2 separate regions of the Homo sapiens genome follow, and region 2 is linked to region 1. The links are contacts of gene promoters, found by promoter capture Hi-C in blood cells and fetal thymus (Javierre and others, 2016). All regions are on one chromosome and are shown on one strand. Each heading gives the region's core, a stretch centred on a gene start or on the middle of the fragment in contact. The rest is flanking DNA. Distances are from core to core; before and after follow the strand shown. Region 1 holds the start of CACNA1C-AS1 (CACNA1C antisense RNA 1). Region 2 holds the start of TSPAN9 (tetraspanin 9).

Region 1 (7,516 bases), core at 3,002-5,501:
GGGGACAGGGTGGCAGACACCCCCACATCCCACCAGGTAGGCTGATGTGGCTGGAACAACACCCCCAGATGGAATGAGTACTCTTCTCACCTTCCCAAATAGATCCTTGAGATGTCAGCGGCTCCACCACACTGGTCACTGTGGGTGGGTAAGCTGAACACATCCTTCCATGAACTGGGAAGAGGCACAGAGGGAGTCAAAATATGCCCTTTTCTTGCCTCCATTCTCCTCCCAGTCCTCTCTGTGCTGACATTTGCCCCAGAGGCAGGTCTTCTTTAAAATATGGAAACGGCCCAGACTCCATCAGCAAGTATTTGCCTCCCCTGGGGTTTAAAGAGGTCTTCTGGGAGTCAGCAGGCCCTTTTTGTGGCCTCTTTGCTGAATTGTTTCTAATCCTTGACAATGATATTTCAATTCTTGGCCTCTAGGGATGGAGATGCCATCATCCTCCTTTACCACCTTTCCCACGATGAGGCTAAAAACCCCGATGACCAGGGTTCCACTCTATCCCTGACCTACATTCGTGTTTTCTTTCTTTGCCTTTAGGAGTGGTGGCTGTGTATCTTCAGGACTCCATAAAGTAGCCACCATCTTTTGGGTGACTTCCAAAGTCCTCATTTTCTAGGTGTCACTGTTGCTCAGGAGATGAACTTGGGCATGGAAAGGTCTGCTTCTCCTGAGGTTGCCCCACTGTCTTCAGCTGCATGGGCAGGAGACATGCTGGGTGGAGAAAAGCTGGGAGAAAGTAACGGGTAGCTTCACTCCAGACAAGCACCTGGAATTTGGAACTGGGAAATAGAATGAGAGACATTGCCTTGTTCCTTTGAGTGGATTTCCCAGTGAGAGTGAGGCCTATTGGATTAAGAAGAAGGAAAGGGGTTATAACTAGTACCTTCTGAATCAAAGCTGGGAAAAATTCTCCAAGGTCTGGAAATGAAAGAGGCAGGGCTGGTCGGAGGACAAGAATTAAGTTGACCAAACTGCAGACCTTAAACTGTTGTTTCTTCAAGTCCCTTGGGCCCTTAGCCCCTGACTGTTTTCTCCTGACACTTGGGGGCTGTCAGGAGGGGTATGGAAGATGTGACAATTATGTTTTACAAGGTCATGGGGAAAATTCCATTTTAGGTGGAGAGTAGACATCACTTGGAAGATTGTGCTGTGGTTCATTGATGTCACTACTTGTGCCAGTCTGTTCTGATGACAGGCATCATACGCCAGTCTTATTCTAGTGGATCAGAAGGTCAAGCTAGGATAGTCCTCCTGCCCTAGACAGGGAACGCCTGTGTGTACCTCCTGGTAGAAATCTTGGGAACTTTTCAAAGGATGATACCTAAACTCAATTTCTAGAGGACCTTGATGGCAGTGAAAAGGAATCAAGAAAGTTTGGATGACTTGGGTGTGGATATCCATAAAGAAACTCTGTTTCTAGACTGTGTTAACCGGGGAGTATTGAGTACATTTCTCCACTTTGTCATGAATCAGTCCAGCAAGCTGTCATAGAGGAATGGACTGTCCCTTATTGTAATTTCTAGCTTACTTATATATGTGCCAAGAGGGGCTCAGGGAACACTAGGACTGGAAGAGATTTAATGGGTCAATTCTGGGTGAATGGTTGGGTCCTGTTTTCCCCAAAGCAGTCCCTTTTCAGCCACCACTGTTGACATACATTTGAAGGACACAGCACCAAAAGAGTGATGTTCTAGGGAGATATAAGTGAGCATTAGAGATGCCCCCACAAAAATCTGTTCCCACCCCCACTGTGAGCTCCGGATGCCTCTTCCCTTGTCCTGGCCCCCTCCCCGGCAGCCCAAACATTAGGGCAAGCCTGAAGGAAAGGCTGCTCCAGAGTGAGGAAGGGATGGAGAAAGGAGCACGCAGAGTTGACTTTCAGATGGATCAGGGTTTCACCAGTTCCTTTCTCGAGCCCCTGCTGTCCTTGTTGGGTAGAGCAACAAGAATCCGGAAGTGAGGATGCCCCTCCCTCCAAGCAGCCTGACTTTAATTTTATCCTCCCGGTTAGTGTACACTTTCCTAAGGAAGCCAAAGAGAAAATTCCGTGTGGTGGAAGGGAAGGGAAAGCCAGCTACCTCTTCCATGGGGGATGCGGATGACGGCCCAGTGACTGAGGGCTCATCAGAACGCCTCCCTGCACCTCACAGTGAAGGGCTGTTCTTGGAGAAGTACCAAATCAGATGACCAGAGCAGAGTGGACAGAGTGAAGACTGGAATAAAATAGGTCCTGGTCTCTCACAGCAAGAGGCGGTACAAACATACCCAGCAAACGATTTTGGAAAAATTGAGGGAAATGTAAGCAAACACAAGATATGCAAAACAGTAATGTCCAAACCTGTTTGTGGAGAGCAGAATAATGACTACACTGGTGATACCTTTGCTCATTGTGCAAACTAAAGAAAACTTGTTCCCTTTCCCCCAACCACATATAGAAAAGCACTTGAGTTCAAAGGTAAAGCTTGTCACACTCCAAATACAAAATGATTTACTTTACATGCAGCAAAATATACAAGAAGTGAATCCGAAAACCAACTTAATTCAATTCATTATATTCGCTTGGCACAATTGCAATTCAGTTTTAAAAAAATATTTGAAAAATACTGAAACTGACCTGAATTCAAGTATAACGGTTTCTTCAACAGAAACATTATCAATGCAATAAAACATTACACGGAATATATTGAAGCAAAATGCCTTCTTGTGTTTTTCCCTTAAATTTCTGTCTTTTTTTAAAATACAGTTTTAATGCCAACACAACTCACAATTGTATTTTTAAATGAATATTATTGCATTGTTTTTGCATATCTTGTGGGACAGAAAATGCAAAGAGTTACTGATTCCCGTTTCAGAAGCAGAGACAGTGGTTTGTTTTTGCTTTCAAACGGCCCCAGATTCAGATCTTCCCACAGCTAAACCAGAAAGGGGGGACTGCGTAGTCACTGGTGTGCACGGGCACATGGTGTGGGTGCATATACACGGGCAGGACATATGCACACAGACAACCCACCACACACACACGCGTCGCACACACTCGGAGACTCTCTCGCGCATGCTCCTCTCTCCCAAACCCACCTGTACACCCAGCATAAAAAGGAACCCAACTCTATCACCCACATGTGCAAGACCACATCAAGTGCATTGCCAGTTACCTTTCCATTAGATAACCGAACCAAACCAGAACAAAAATAGGTTACTACCTAAGGAAATGATAACAAATTATTGGGCATACACAATGGTTGGTAAAACTCTCCTGCAGCGGCTTCTATTGAACCTCCGTGGAAAAAGGAAACCACAACCGTTTAAATAATACAAGAAAACCAAACCCGATGTACATTGGCAAAAGTGAAAACAGAAAGGTGAGGGGGCTACAGGACTTTGTAAACACTCTTCTTCCTCCCCTCCCGCTGGGAAAGCAAAATAAAACATTTAAAAAAAACCAAAACCGAAAAGAAACTGCAACATGCTGTCAAGAAAAGTGTCAAACCACAAAACAAAAGAGCGCTCAGCGGAAGCTCAGCACCACCTGGTTGGGCGGAGCCGGCGGCGCAGCTCCTCCCTCGCGCTGCCTGCGGGCCGGCGGCTGGCCGGGAGCTCGGCGTGGCCCGTGCCGGTCGGGGGATCCCGTCGCAGGTGGGCAGGGACGGAGTGAGCCGCACCACTGCCGGCCCGACGCCCATCCCCAGAGCTCCGCGCCCCTGGAGGCCTCCTCCTCCCTCTCCGGGCCGGGTTGGGGTCCTCCTGGAAGTCCTGCCCCGCTCCCTTCTCCAAATCCGCAGGGCCCTGGCTCTAGGGAGACAGCGAGGCTCGTACAGAATATGTGCAAATGGTTTCTACAAGCAGAGTCGAAAGACACCCGTTTGCTGTAGGGTCCTTTTGGTGAGGGCGCGCGGGAAGCCGGGGTGCTCTCCCCGCGGAGGCGCGGCCGGGCCCGGGGCCTGCGAGCTGGGAGAGGGCAGGCGCCTTCCTCGCGCCCCGGGACCCTCGCCGCCTCCTCTCCCCGCCTCTGCAGACGCAGCCGGGCGCCTTCCTCCCGGAGGGCGGCTCGCGCACCCAGGCTCCGCGTCTGGTCCCAACAGAAATGAATGAAGACGCTGTTCCGGTTAACTCCAGGTCACGAGAACAGTGAGGCACTTCTGAAACGAACCCATTAGGAACATTGAAACAAATAAAAAAAAGCCCGCATCTGGCAGCGCCCACTACAGGCTGCTGACGTAGACCCTGCTGTCCTGGAGCTCCTCCTCACTCGGTCGACCCCGCGCGCGCACACAGCCCGCGTCCTCTTCGCCCCCGGCTCGGTCCTGCCCCGCGTCCCTGCAGTTCACAAAGGGTAAGAGGGCGCCATTGGGGCTCTGTGGGGCGCCCCCGCTGAGGATGTTGTCGGCCGCGCTCTCCATCTCCTCTATGGTCATGTCGCAGGCGTCGGCCAGCTCCTGGGTGGTGACCTCGATGAACTTGGGATCTTGAGCAAACTGCCCCAGTCCTTCTGAAATCAAGACCTGAAGGAGCGGGGTGGGAGCCATGAAGAACCAAAGGAACATTACTCCTGGAGCCCAGCTCTTCCCTTGAGGGCTAGAGCGAGGGGGTATCTGGTAGGTCACTTGGGGAAGTGTGCGTGTGTGCACGTGTACGTGTGTGTGTTGGGAGGGGCACCCATGGGGAACAAGTGGAGATGGAGCATCTGCCAGAATTAGGGATGTGCAGGCCAGAGAAGTTTTGGCTGGGGTGGTCAAACACTGTCATCAAATATATGAAGACTTGCTTATGGCCCAGCACGGTGGCTCACACCTGTCACCCAGCACTTTGGGAAGCCCAGGCAGAAGGACTGCTTGAGCCCAGGAGTTCGAGACCAGGCCCAGGCAACACAGGGAAACTTCGTCTCTACAAAAAATTTAAGAATAATTAGCTGGGTGTGGTGATGCACACCTGTGATCTTAGCAAGGCCAGAGACTGAGGTGGGAGGATCATTTGACCCCAGCAGCGCCAGGCTGCACTGAGCTGTGATTGTACCACTACACTCCAGCCTGGGTGACAGAGCGAGACCCTGTCTCAAAAAACAACCAAAACAAAAACCAGAGAAGGTTTGGCTCTCAGAGGGGCCGGGGGGTTGCCCTGATGCTGTATCAGCAGATCCCAGCCTGCCTCTCTCCTTTCTGACACCCACTGAACCTTTATACTATTCTTTCAGAGAAACCATTCTCCCTGGTGAAACTGCTGAGACAGGCCCACTGCCCATTGCCTGCTGCTGCCTTTCCAGGGGTGAGGTATCTGTGCAAACACGGCGCATGCCCCTGCCTTGCTTCTGCTGGGAAGGGCCAGCAGGTGACCCTTAAGCTTCTCTGTCCTCCCTACCGGCTGCTTAGTGCCTGGCTATGGGAAAATCGGCTCCTGAGCCAGCGGGTCGGGGGAAGCTGAGTGCAGCCTGGCACTCGCTCCTTTCAGGCATCTGTTTGTCTTGCTCCTTGCCCACGCCACTCATTCTCTCCTTGCCCTGCTTAGTTTTTCTTTGGCACTCCTGACCTTCCTGATGTGTTATATATGTATGTGTTTATTATCTGTCTCTCCTCACCATGATGTGAGCTCATGAGAGCAGAAGCTCTGTTTCTCAGCTGTGTCCCTGTACCTAGAACAGGGCCTGCACATGGTAGGCGCTCAGGGAAGGTCTGTGAAATGAATGCAGGATGATCGAGGCCACAGGAATACCAGACTTTGAGAGGTAAACCTTGGAAGCCACCTGGTTTAACGCCCCACCTCCTGCACCACAGCCTGACGCCCGGATGAGCACAGTCTCTGCTTGGCTATGTCTGATGATGGGGGGCTCACTACCTTTCAGGCAAGCCCCTCTCATCTTGGAAGAGCTCATTTGGGAAGGTCTTCCCCATGTGAGCTGAAATCTGTCCGCTGGTGGGCTGAGCCTGCCACCCTTTCCCCATCCCACCCGTTGCAGGTGTGAGAGGTGTATCGCACCCTCCAAAGTCACCTCCTCTCCAGGTTTTCTTCCCGAATTCCCTGAAACGGTTCTCCTAGGAAATGGTTTCTAGGAACCTTGCCATCCTGGTCATCCTCTGTTGGGTTTGTTCCAGTGTGTCAAAGGTCCCTAATAATGTGGTGCCGGGATTGCACTAGATGCTCTGACCAGGCAGAGCACAGTGGGACTGAAAGCTCGCTTGTTCTAGGCTAGTGGCTCTCAACCTTGCTACACGTTAAAATCATCGAAGAGCTTTAACAATCATCAGTTAATCTGTCCCGGGTTTCCAAAGCTCCCCAGGTGATGCTCACGGGCAGTCAGGCCTGAGCACCTTGGATCTTGCCTGTCTGTGTATAAAGGCAGCCAGGCTCACATTTGCATGTCGAGCAGCTGCAGTATAAGGGATAAGTTGCTCAGTGGTTTCTGCCGCCCTCTGCAGTGGGCCCAGCCTCAAGAGAGCCCATAGCATCTTGTGCAGTCATGGCTTTCCGCACACGAGCCCTCCTGCAGCCCTGAGAGGGAGGGTCTTTCGGGCTCAGATATTGACTGCAATGAATTTGGCAAGAGCCAGGTGCTCCCTTCTCAGCCCCGCATGCCAAGTCCCCTTGTTGCCCGTGGCCTCTCCCCCCTGCCCATCTGCGAGTCACCTACCGCTTCCACCAGGCTGCTGGCACTGCCGTGGAACTGCCTCCCTGGGGCCCCAGCCTGGCTGGGCACCATGAGGGAGACGGGCCGGACTCTCCGGGCGGCGCTGCTGCCCCCGCCACCGGGGGTGGTCTCAGCCCAGGAGCCGCAGTGGATGGATGGGAAGCTGCTGTTGAGTTTCTCACTGGACTCGACCCCCTCAAGCCGCAGGGTGGGGACGGGCTGTGGGGGCCAGCCTCGGCTGCCAGGTGTGGCTGGTGGGGTGGCAAAAGGCCTAGGGAATGAGGCAGGGGAATGGCTTCTCTGGAGGAGGGGGCTCAGGCCTGCCACTGCCAATGCCTGCGGACACACAAGGAGTGTGAGTTAATAGGAGTGGCCGACCCCAAACAAGGCAGGCCCCTGCTTCTGAGCAAGCACTGCTTTGCAGCTGCTGTGTCCAGCTAGCTCCACCTGCCTGGTATTCCCATGCCATTATTTTCCCCTGTCGGTCCTATCTCAACCTGGCATGACTTTCAACTATCTCAAAATACATCTTAGGATCATCTGGGTCTGAAGTGATCTCTTTCTCCTGTAACTTCTGAAAGCTGGGATTGGGTGAAGTCGTGGTAACCTGCTTTTAGCCCTGGCCTGGTCACCTGTCAGCTGTGCATTCTCTCGCTCTTGGTTTTGTCCTCAATAGAATGGAGAGCAGGGTGAGGCCTGCATGTCTGTAAAGCCAGAAAACGAATGCTGTCTATCCATCTGCCCTGTGGGGCTGGTGTGAGGCTCAAGCGCAATGAGGTCTGTGAAGAAGCGCTGTGCACCTCACAAAGAGTTGGGAAAACCAGTATTTGTGGTTTTAGTTCTCACAGTTAATGGGGCCATTCATAATGCCCTGCCAGTCTCTAGCTCAGG
Region 2 (7,516 bases), core at 2,926-5,425, 390 kb before region 1:
GGTTCATTTGGGATGGGATGCCAGGGTCTTGAGAGGAGCTCAGACATGAGAAAGGTCTTGAAAGAGGAGAGGGATGGAAGAACCAACCAGGAAGGTGGAAGAGGATGAACTAAGGGGCCAAGAAGGAACGCGCAAAGCATGCTTGGGAGATAAGTCTGGCTAGAACCAAGGGTTCCAGGAGGGAGGAGAGTGGCGATAAGGCTAGACAGGCAGGATGCTGAATGCCAGGCGAATGCACCGGGATTAGATCCACTCCCTCTTAGTCAGTGAGGATGACAACCACTGCAGGCTGGGCCCTCACGGCAGAGAAAAGAAGTCTTGTCCTCTCTTGTTCCAAGCATCTTAGTCCAGTCTCCTCCACGAGGTTATAAATAACAGCCACCGTTTACTGCACACCTGCTGTATATGAGGCCCTGAGCTACGTGCCTCACATACATCAGCTCATGGCTCCTTCCCAACACCCTGAGTACTTGGTATTGTTATCCTCATTTTGCAAGCAAGGAGCTGAGACTAAAGGAGGTGAAGGCATCCGCCCAAGTCCCAACCCACTCACTCATTCACTTAACAGTGCTGGCTGGCCCTGGGGTTACAGGCCTGCGAAAAGGGGGCACTCCCTCCAGCCACCCCAGGTTCAAGGGCTTCCCACCTAAGCTGGGCTGCTTCTCCACAACTCTCCCGATTAATTCCTCAAGGTCAGCATTTACTAAGCACACAGCAGGAGCTTAATAAAGCACACTAAACAGACAGAATAGTGGCTGCCAGAGGCTGGGAGGAGGGGGAAACAGTTGTTTCAAGAATATTAAAGCTTCAGTTTTACAAGGTAATTTCTGGAGCTGTCGCACAACAATGTAAATAGACTTAATGCTACTGAACTGTACATTTAAGAATGGTTAAAATGTACACTTAAGATTTTACATTTGCCAGGCGCGGTGGCTCATGCTTGTAATCCCAGCACTTTTTGGGGCCGAGGAGGGTGGATCATGAGGTCAGGAGTTCAAGACCAGCCTGGCCAACATGGTGAAACCCCGTCTCTACTAAAAAAAATACAAAATTTAGCCGAGGGTGATGGCGGGCGCCTGTAGTCCCAGCTACTGGGGAGGCTGAGGCAGAGAATTGCTTGAACCCGGGAGGCGGAGGTTGCAGTGAGCTGTGATTATGCCACTGCACTCCAGCCTGGGCGACAGAGTGAGACTCCATCTCAAAAACAACAACAACAAAAAAAAGATTTTACATTCAGTGTTTTTTTAACCACAATTTTAGAATTTTTTATATAAAGCACACTTCCTAATTGATTGAGTGGCTGCCAATATCTTACACTGTTAATTATCTGATGCTGGAAGAGACTCTAGAATATTTCTAATCCAATATACCACCAAAACAGAGAGTTGGAAAGAGGAGGTAAATTGCCCAAGGTTGCACAAATAGGTGGTGCCAGGTGAAGACAAGGCTCAACATAGAGGAAAGGGGCTGGGCGTGGTGGCTCACGCCTGTAATCCCAACACTTTGGGAGGCCAAGGTAGGAGAATTGCTTGAGGCCAGGAGTTCAAGACCAGAGACCAGCCTGGGCAACATAGCACAACCCTGTCTCTACCAAAAAAAAAAAAAAAATTTTTTTAATTATCTGAGCATGGGGCCTGTACCTATAGTCCCAGCTACTCGGGAGGCTAAGGTGGGAGGATCACTTGAGCCCAGGAGTTGGAGGCTGCAGTGAGCTGCTTGTGTCCCTGTGCTCCAGCCCAGGCAACAAAGCAAGACCCTGTCTCTAAAAAAAAAAAAAAAAAATAGAAGAAGGGGCTAAGTACGGTGGTTCATGCCTGTAATCCCAGCACTTTGGGAGGCCAAGGCAGGCGGATCACCTGAGGTCAGGAGTTTGAGACCAGTCTGGCCAACATGGCGAAACTCCATCTCTACTAAAAATACAAAAATTAGCCAGGTGTGGTGGCGGGCACCTGTAATCCCAGTTACTTGGGAGGTTGAGGCAGGAGAATCACTTGAACCCAGTAGGCAGAGGTTGCAGTGAGCCGAGATAGTGCCATCGCACTCCAGCCTGGGCAACAAAAGCAAAAGTCTGTCTCAGAAAAAAATAAATAAATAAAATAGAAGAAGGGCAGAGAGGCAGATGGCAGAATAGATGGCACAAGGCAGGAAGGTCAGAAGCCAGGGTTCAAGTTTTGCTTCTTTCACTTAATGAGTGTTGTGACCTTAGATAAGATACTTATTCTCTCTGAGTATCATTTTCTTAACCTATAAGAAGGCAATTAAAAGTAACAAACTTCAGCCAATGCGGTGGCTCACGCCTATAATCCCAGCACTGTGGGAGGCCAAGGCAGGTGGATCACTTGAGGTCAGGAGTTCAAGACCAGCCTGGTCAACATGGCAAAACCTCATCTCTACTAAAAATACAAAAATTAGAAGGCGTGGCGGCACGCGCCTGTAATCCCAGCTACTCGGGAGGCTGAGGCAGGAGAATGGCTTGAACCTGGGACGCGGGGGTTGCAGTGAGCTGAGATCCTGCCACTGCACTCCAGCCTGGGCAACAGAGTGAGACTCTGTCTCAAAAAAAAAAAAAAAAGTAACAAATTTCACAAGATTACGTATGAATTAAATAAAATTATATACAGCTAATGTAACGTGCATAGAAAAAACTTGGCCAACTATAAATTACTTTATCAACACTAGTTATTGTTATTAATATTAAATATCTGTTCATAGGTTTAAAAAGCTCTGCCAGAATATTAAAATCTGATTAAACCAGACCAAAAAAAAAAAAATCCTACTCTCACCTGTTCAGGGACTTGCACACAGGGCGTCTTCAGTGAGTGAGAGTAGAACTGAATTACACTTCAAGTTTTATCTACCCCAATCCTCTCCCTCCAACCCACAGCCCAGCTGCATCAGCCATGCCAGGACCAAGCCGAGGGTAGGAAGCCGGTGTAATTGTCTGCCTCTCTGGCTGCATTCCTTAGCTAAATATAAATGATTTGTCCAGGCTATTGTTTGAAATTATCCATAATCCCTCTCCTCCCCTCCCCATTACTTATGATGGCAAGCTGGCTGCGTATCTCTATAGCAAAGCATATATTCAACATTCTCTGTGGCTATTTTCAGTAAAGAGAAGGGAGCTGGCAGGTATATATAGGGATCCTCGCATGAGTCTTCAGTTTTCTCCACTAGTCCAGGAAAGCTTCCTGGAGGAGGAAATACCTGAGTCACCCCAGGGAAAAGGACAGCTGCAGGTCAGAAGGGCACGCGCACATAATGAGAGACTGGGTCTCTGAACTAAGAGTTACCAGGTAAGGCAGGTAAGCCCCTGCCTTCTTACCCCCCGTTTTGGTGATGCGAGAAAAAGGTAGCTCAGGGGATCCCATACTAGCCCAAGCTTCCCCAGACAAAACAGGCATTTGGGGGAAGATGAAGCAGTGACTCGTATATTTTTCAAAGAGGGAGGAGATCCAAGACTCCAGTTCCAAGATGTACAAGTACAAATATTGCTCTTACAACAACAAGCCGGTTTCTTGTTTGGATCTTTTTTTAAAAACCACAAGAAAGTTTTTTGAAGTCCCAAACTTGAATGCACAGATGGGCTAGATCTCCAACTTCGGGATGTGCCAGAGTCCTGTCACTCGGAGTGCTGATCTTCCAGCAGTGGCCCAGGGAGCGGTCGCGGGTGCCGGGGGGCTGCAGGCCATATCCCAGCCCTGCCCGAAGGCCCCCTGGCCCTCTCTGGGGTCCTTGTATGGACTGTCCCAAGCGGTGCACGGGGTCACACAGTCGGAAACCCTTGCCGGCCCCGGGTTACTCCCTTTCTGAAACGGTCTTCCTCGGAGCCATCCCCTGGAGGACCCCACTTCGCTCGGTGCCCGGGCCCCGCACCCACCCTCCCCTTCCCGGCCCGCTTCCCGCACGGCGCCTACTCTGTTCCTCGTCCTCTCGTCCCACCGCCGCCCTGCCCACACTGCCTCCCGTGGGCGCCCCCGGCCGCTCCCCCTTCTCGGGTCTCGGCCTGGGGGTGCCCAGCCCGCCCGGCGCCGGCTCAAGGCCGCGCGACTCCGCACGCTCTCGAGACCCGCCTCGCCGCCCGCCGCCCGGGCCGCACTCACCGCGCCCGCAGGACCTGGGGGTCTCCGCTCTGCTCGCGCTCCGGCACCGCCGCCGCCGCCGCCGCCAGCGGAAACAGGGGGCGGGGCCTGCCCGGGAATGGCGAGCCTGCGGGGCGGGGCGGCCCGGGGGCGGAGCGGGGAGGGGCGGGGCGGAGCGGGGAGGGGCGGGGCGGAGAAGGATCGCAGGGCTGAGCGGGGCGCCAGCGCCAGTGCCCGGCACTGCCCCGGGCTGGGTCCCCTGCGTTAGAGGAAGGGGAGCCCGGGGACGGGGCACGGGGCCCGCGAGGCACGGGTGCTCTCTCGGGGTTCCGGAAGCCTCCCTCCCCGCCCCGCCGCCCGCATGCCCGGACCGGCCGCTCCTCCGAGGTGCTATGATCCCGCCTTCCCCCTGCGGCGAACGGGCCTCTTCCCGGGGTAGGGGCGGGGAGGTCCGGGCCTGGCAGTGCGCTCTCCTGGGCTCTGCGCCCACACGGCACCCAAGGGCCTTCCTGGCCCAGGCCTCGGCTCTCTCCCTCGCGCCAGGCTGCCTGGCCTCGCCACCCCACCCCCACACCTACGAACCCCTTCCCTGGTGTTTCGGGCGGACTGTGCGAGATGCTGACAGCGCGGGTGTGTGTTGGAGCCTGCCTGAGACACCTCCCGCAGAAAGGGCCATGCCTCCCCAGGAGCTGGCGGCCTCCAAGGGCGACTACAGGGCACCGTGTGCCTGAGGGGTGCGCTAAGGCAGGAGAAACTCCAGCTAGGCATGTCTGGCCCGGGCGCTTTTTCAGGCCTGGATTTTATGTGTTTTTTGCTTTTTGTTTTGTTTTGTTTTTTCTTGAGACAAGGACTCACTCTGTTGCCCAGGCAGGAGTGCAGTGGTGCGATCACGGCTCACTGCAGCCTCGACTTCCCGGGCTCAAGTGATCCCGCCTCAGCCTCCAGAGTAGTTGGGACTGTAGGCGCGCACCACCACGTCCGGCGAAGTTTTTGATTTTTTTTGTACAGACGGTGGTCTCCCTGGGCCCAAGCTGGTCTCAAACTCCCGGGCTCAAGCCATCCTCCTGCCTCTGCCTCCCAAAGTGCTGGGATTATAGGCCCGGATTCTTAAAGCTAGAAGGCCTAAACTTGTTTCCAAAGAGCACTAAAACGCCATCTCTTCTCATCATTACTGTCATCAAAAATGTCTTCTAGGCCAGGTGTGGTGGCTCACGCGTGTAATCCCAGGACTTTGGGGGGCCCAGGTGGAAGGATTGCTTGAGCTCAGGAACTCAGGAATTCAAGAACAGCCTGGGCAACATAGGGAAACCCCATCTCAAAAAAAAAATGTTTTAATTAACCGGGTGTGGTGGCACACCCCTGTAGTCCCAGCTGCTCCGGAGGCTGAGGCTCAGGCGTTGGAGGCTGCAGTAAACTAGGATCATGCCACTGTACTCCAGCCTGGGCAGTAGAGGGAGACCCTGTCTTTAAAAGTGAAATTTTTTTAAATTTTAAAGAAACTGTATGCTGTGCTTCCCACGTGCCCTACCATTGCACTAAGCTTGACTGGGGACAAGTTTTTAAAACCTGGCTATAATCACTAGGGTCACTTTTGCTTTCTGCTAATTAGACTGGAAGTTTCCACTCATCTTCTGGGCCCCTTTCCGTCACACACATGCAACCTTGTTTTTGTCTATTAGACTAAACCCATAACCCATTTCCTTCTGATCTCCCTTTCCCCACAAGGAAAATATTCTCCTTCTACATTTTGCTTCATCCAAAGCCCTGTTCAATGCCCCTATAACAAAGTCTTCCCAAGGAACCCCCACCAGCCCCAATCTCTCCAGTCACTGCGGCAGAGTTGGGTACATGTACCCAGAAAAGGAAACTGGGTCTCAGACAGGGAAAGAGATATACTAGGATTGTCTGCCAGCAAGCCAACTCACTGGCAGACCATTGGACGCAGCCTGGTGAGGGAGTAGCCGCAGGGCTTGGGAGCCAGACACACCTGTCTGAATCCTGGCTCTGCTTTTATCGGCTGGGACCTCTTCAGGCCTGTTTTCTCACCTGTGGAATGGGGCATAAGAATACCAATTATGGGGATGGGCATGGTGGCTCACACCTGTAATCCCAGTACTTAGGGAGGCCGAGGCGGGTGGATTACCTGAGATCAGGAGTTTGAGACCAGCCTGGCCAACATGGTGAAACCCCGTCTCCACTAAAAATACAAAAATTAGCCGGGTGTGGTGGCACATGCCTGTAATCCCAGCTACTCGGAGGGCTGAGGCAGGAGAATTGCTTGAGCCTGGGAGACGGAGGTTGCAGTGAGCCAAGATCGTGCCACTGCACTCCAGCCTGGTCGACAGAGCGAGACTGTCTCAAAAAAAAAAAAAAAAAAAAACCAATTCCACAGGGTTGATGGGCTGACCAAGATGATGGAGTAAAAGCACAACATGTGATGTGTGGTGACTGCTCTACAAATGCTAGCTTCCTCCTGCCCTTTTTGGTTTTTGTTTTGTTTTGTTGTTTTTGAGACAGGGACTTGTTCTGCCACCCAGGCTGGAGGGCAGTGGTGCCATCATGGCTCACTGCAGCCTCCAACTCCTGGACTCAAGGATCCTCCAACCTCAGACTCCTAAGTAGCTGGGACCACACGTGCATGCCACCATACCCAGCTAATTGGGGTTTTTGTTTGTTTTGTTTTTGTTTTTGTTTTCGTTTTCGTTTTGTTTTGTAGAGACAGAGGCCTCACTATGTTGCTCAAGCTAGTTTTGAACTCCTGGCCTCAAGCAATCCTCCCACCTTGGCCTCCCAAAGTCCTCCTGCCCTTTAAAAAAAGATAGGCGGAGCACAGTGGCTCACACCTGTCATCCCAGCACTTTGGGAGGCCAAGGCAGGTGGATCACTCAAGCCCAGGAGTTCGAGACCAGCCTGGCCAACATGGCAAAACCCCATCTCTACTAAAAATACAAAAATTAGCCAGGTGTGCATGGGCGTGGTGGCACATGCCTGTACGGGAGGCTGAGGTGAGAGGATTGCTTGAGCCCAGGAGGTCAAGGCTGCAGTGAACCATGATTATACCACTGCTCTCCAGCCTGGGTGACAGAGTGAGACTCTGTCTCAAATTAATTAATTAATTAGAGCAAATCTGAAATAATGGAATTCTGAAGTCTTAGAGATAGATGAAATCTTAGAAGAAATCCCTCAGCAATAGCCCAGAAAATGGCTTCACTGCTCACTCTCCTTCACCACATTCAGAGGTGAATGCCTCAGTGCCTCTGAGGGGCTGACAGTTGGAAGGAAGCTCTGAAGAAAAGCTGTAGAGGAGATGGGATTATTCAGCATAAAGGACACAAAGGTGACTAGTGGTCTGTGAAGCAGACACACTGATAGTGTCCACTGAGGACTAAACGCAAGTAAACCTGACAATGACGCACCACCCTCTTGGGGAAGGGACT

Evidence for each region. The method cuts DNA at HindIII sites, captures the fragments that hold promoters and counts their contacts. A CHiCAGO score of 5 or more calls a contact.
Region 2: a contact is called between the fragment with the promoter of TSPAN9 here and the fragment with the promoter of CACNA1C-AS1 in region 1, in 6 of 17 cell types (fetal thymus, naive CD4 T cells, activated CD4 T cells and 3 more). The highest score is 7.9, in fetal thymus.

The regions. Positions count from the first base shown.
Region 1 is chr12:2,687,892-2,695,407 of GRCh38, reverse strand. CACNA1C-AS1 (CACNA1C antisense RNA 1) reads left to right here and starts at 4,251. Exons shown (of 4, transcript NR_045725.1): 1 at 4,251-4,339; 2 at 4,429-4,601; 3 at 5,198-5,268. It overlaps CACNA1C (calcium voltage-gated channel subunit alpha1 C), which reads right to left. Exons shown (of 47, transcript NM_000719.7): 46 at 6,629-6,961; 47 at 1-4,508. The coding sequence ends at 4,209. RefSeq lists a silencer at 3,522-3,791. The HindIII fragment of the contact is 2,873 bases long and covers 2,473-5,345 here.
Region 2 is chr12:3,074,038-3,081,553 of GRCh38, reverse strand. It overlaps TSPAN9 (tetraspanin 9), which reads right to left and starts at 4,175. Exons shown (of 9, transcript NM_006675.5): 1 at 4,101-4,175. RefSeq lists silencers at 4,070-4,569, 4,620-4,669. The HindIII fragment of the contact is 2,240 bases long and covers 3,382-5,621 here.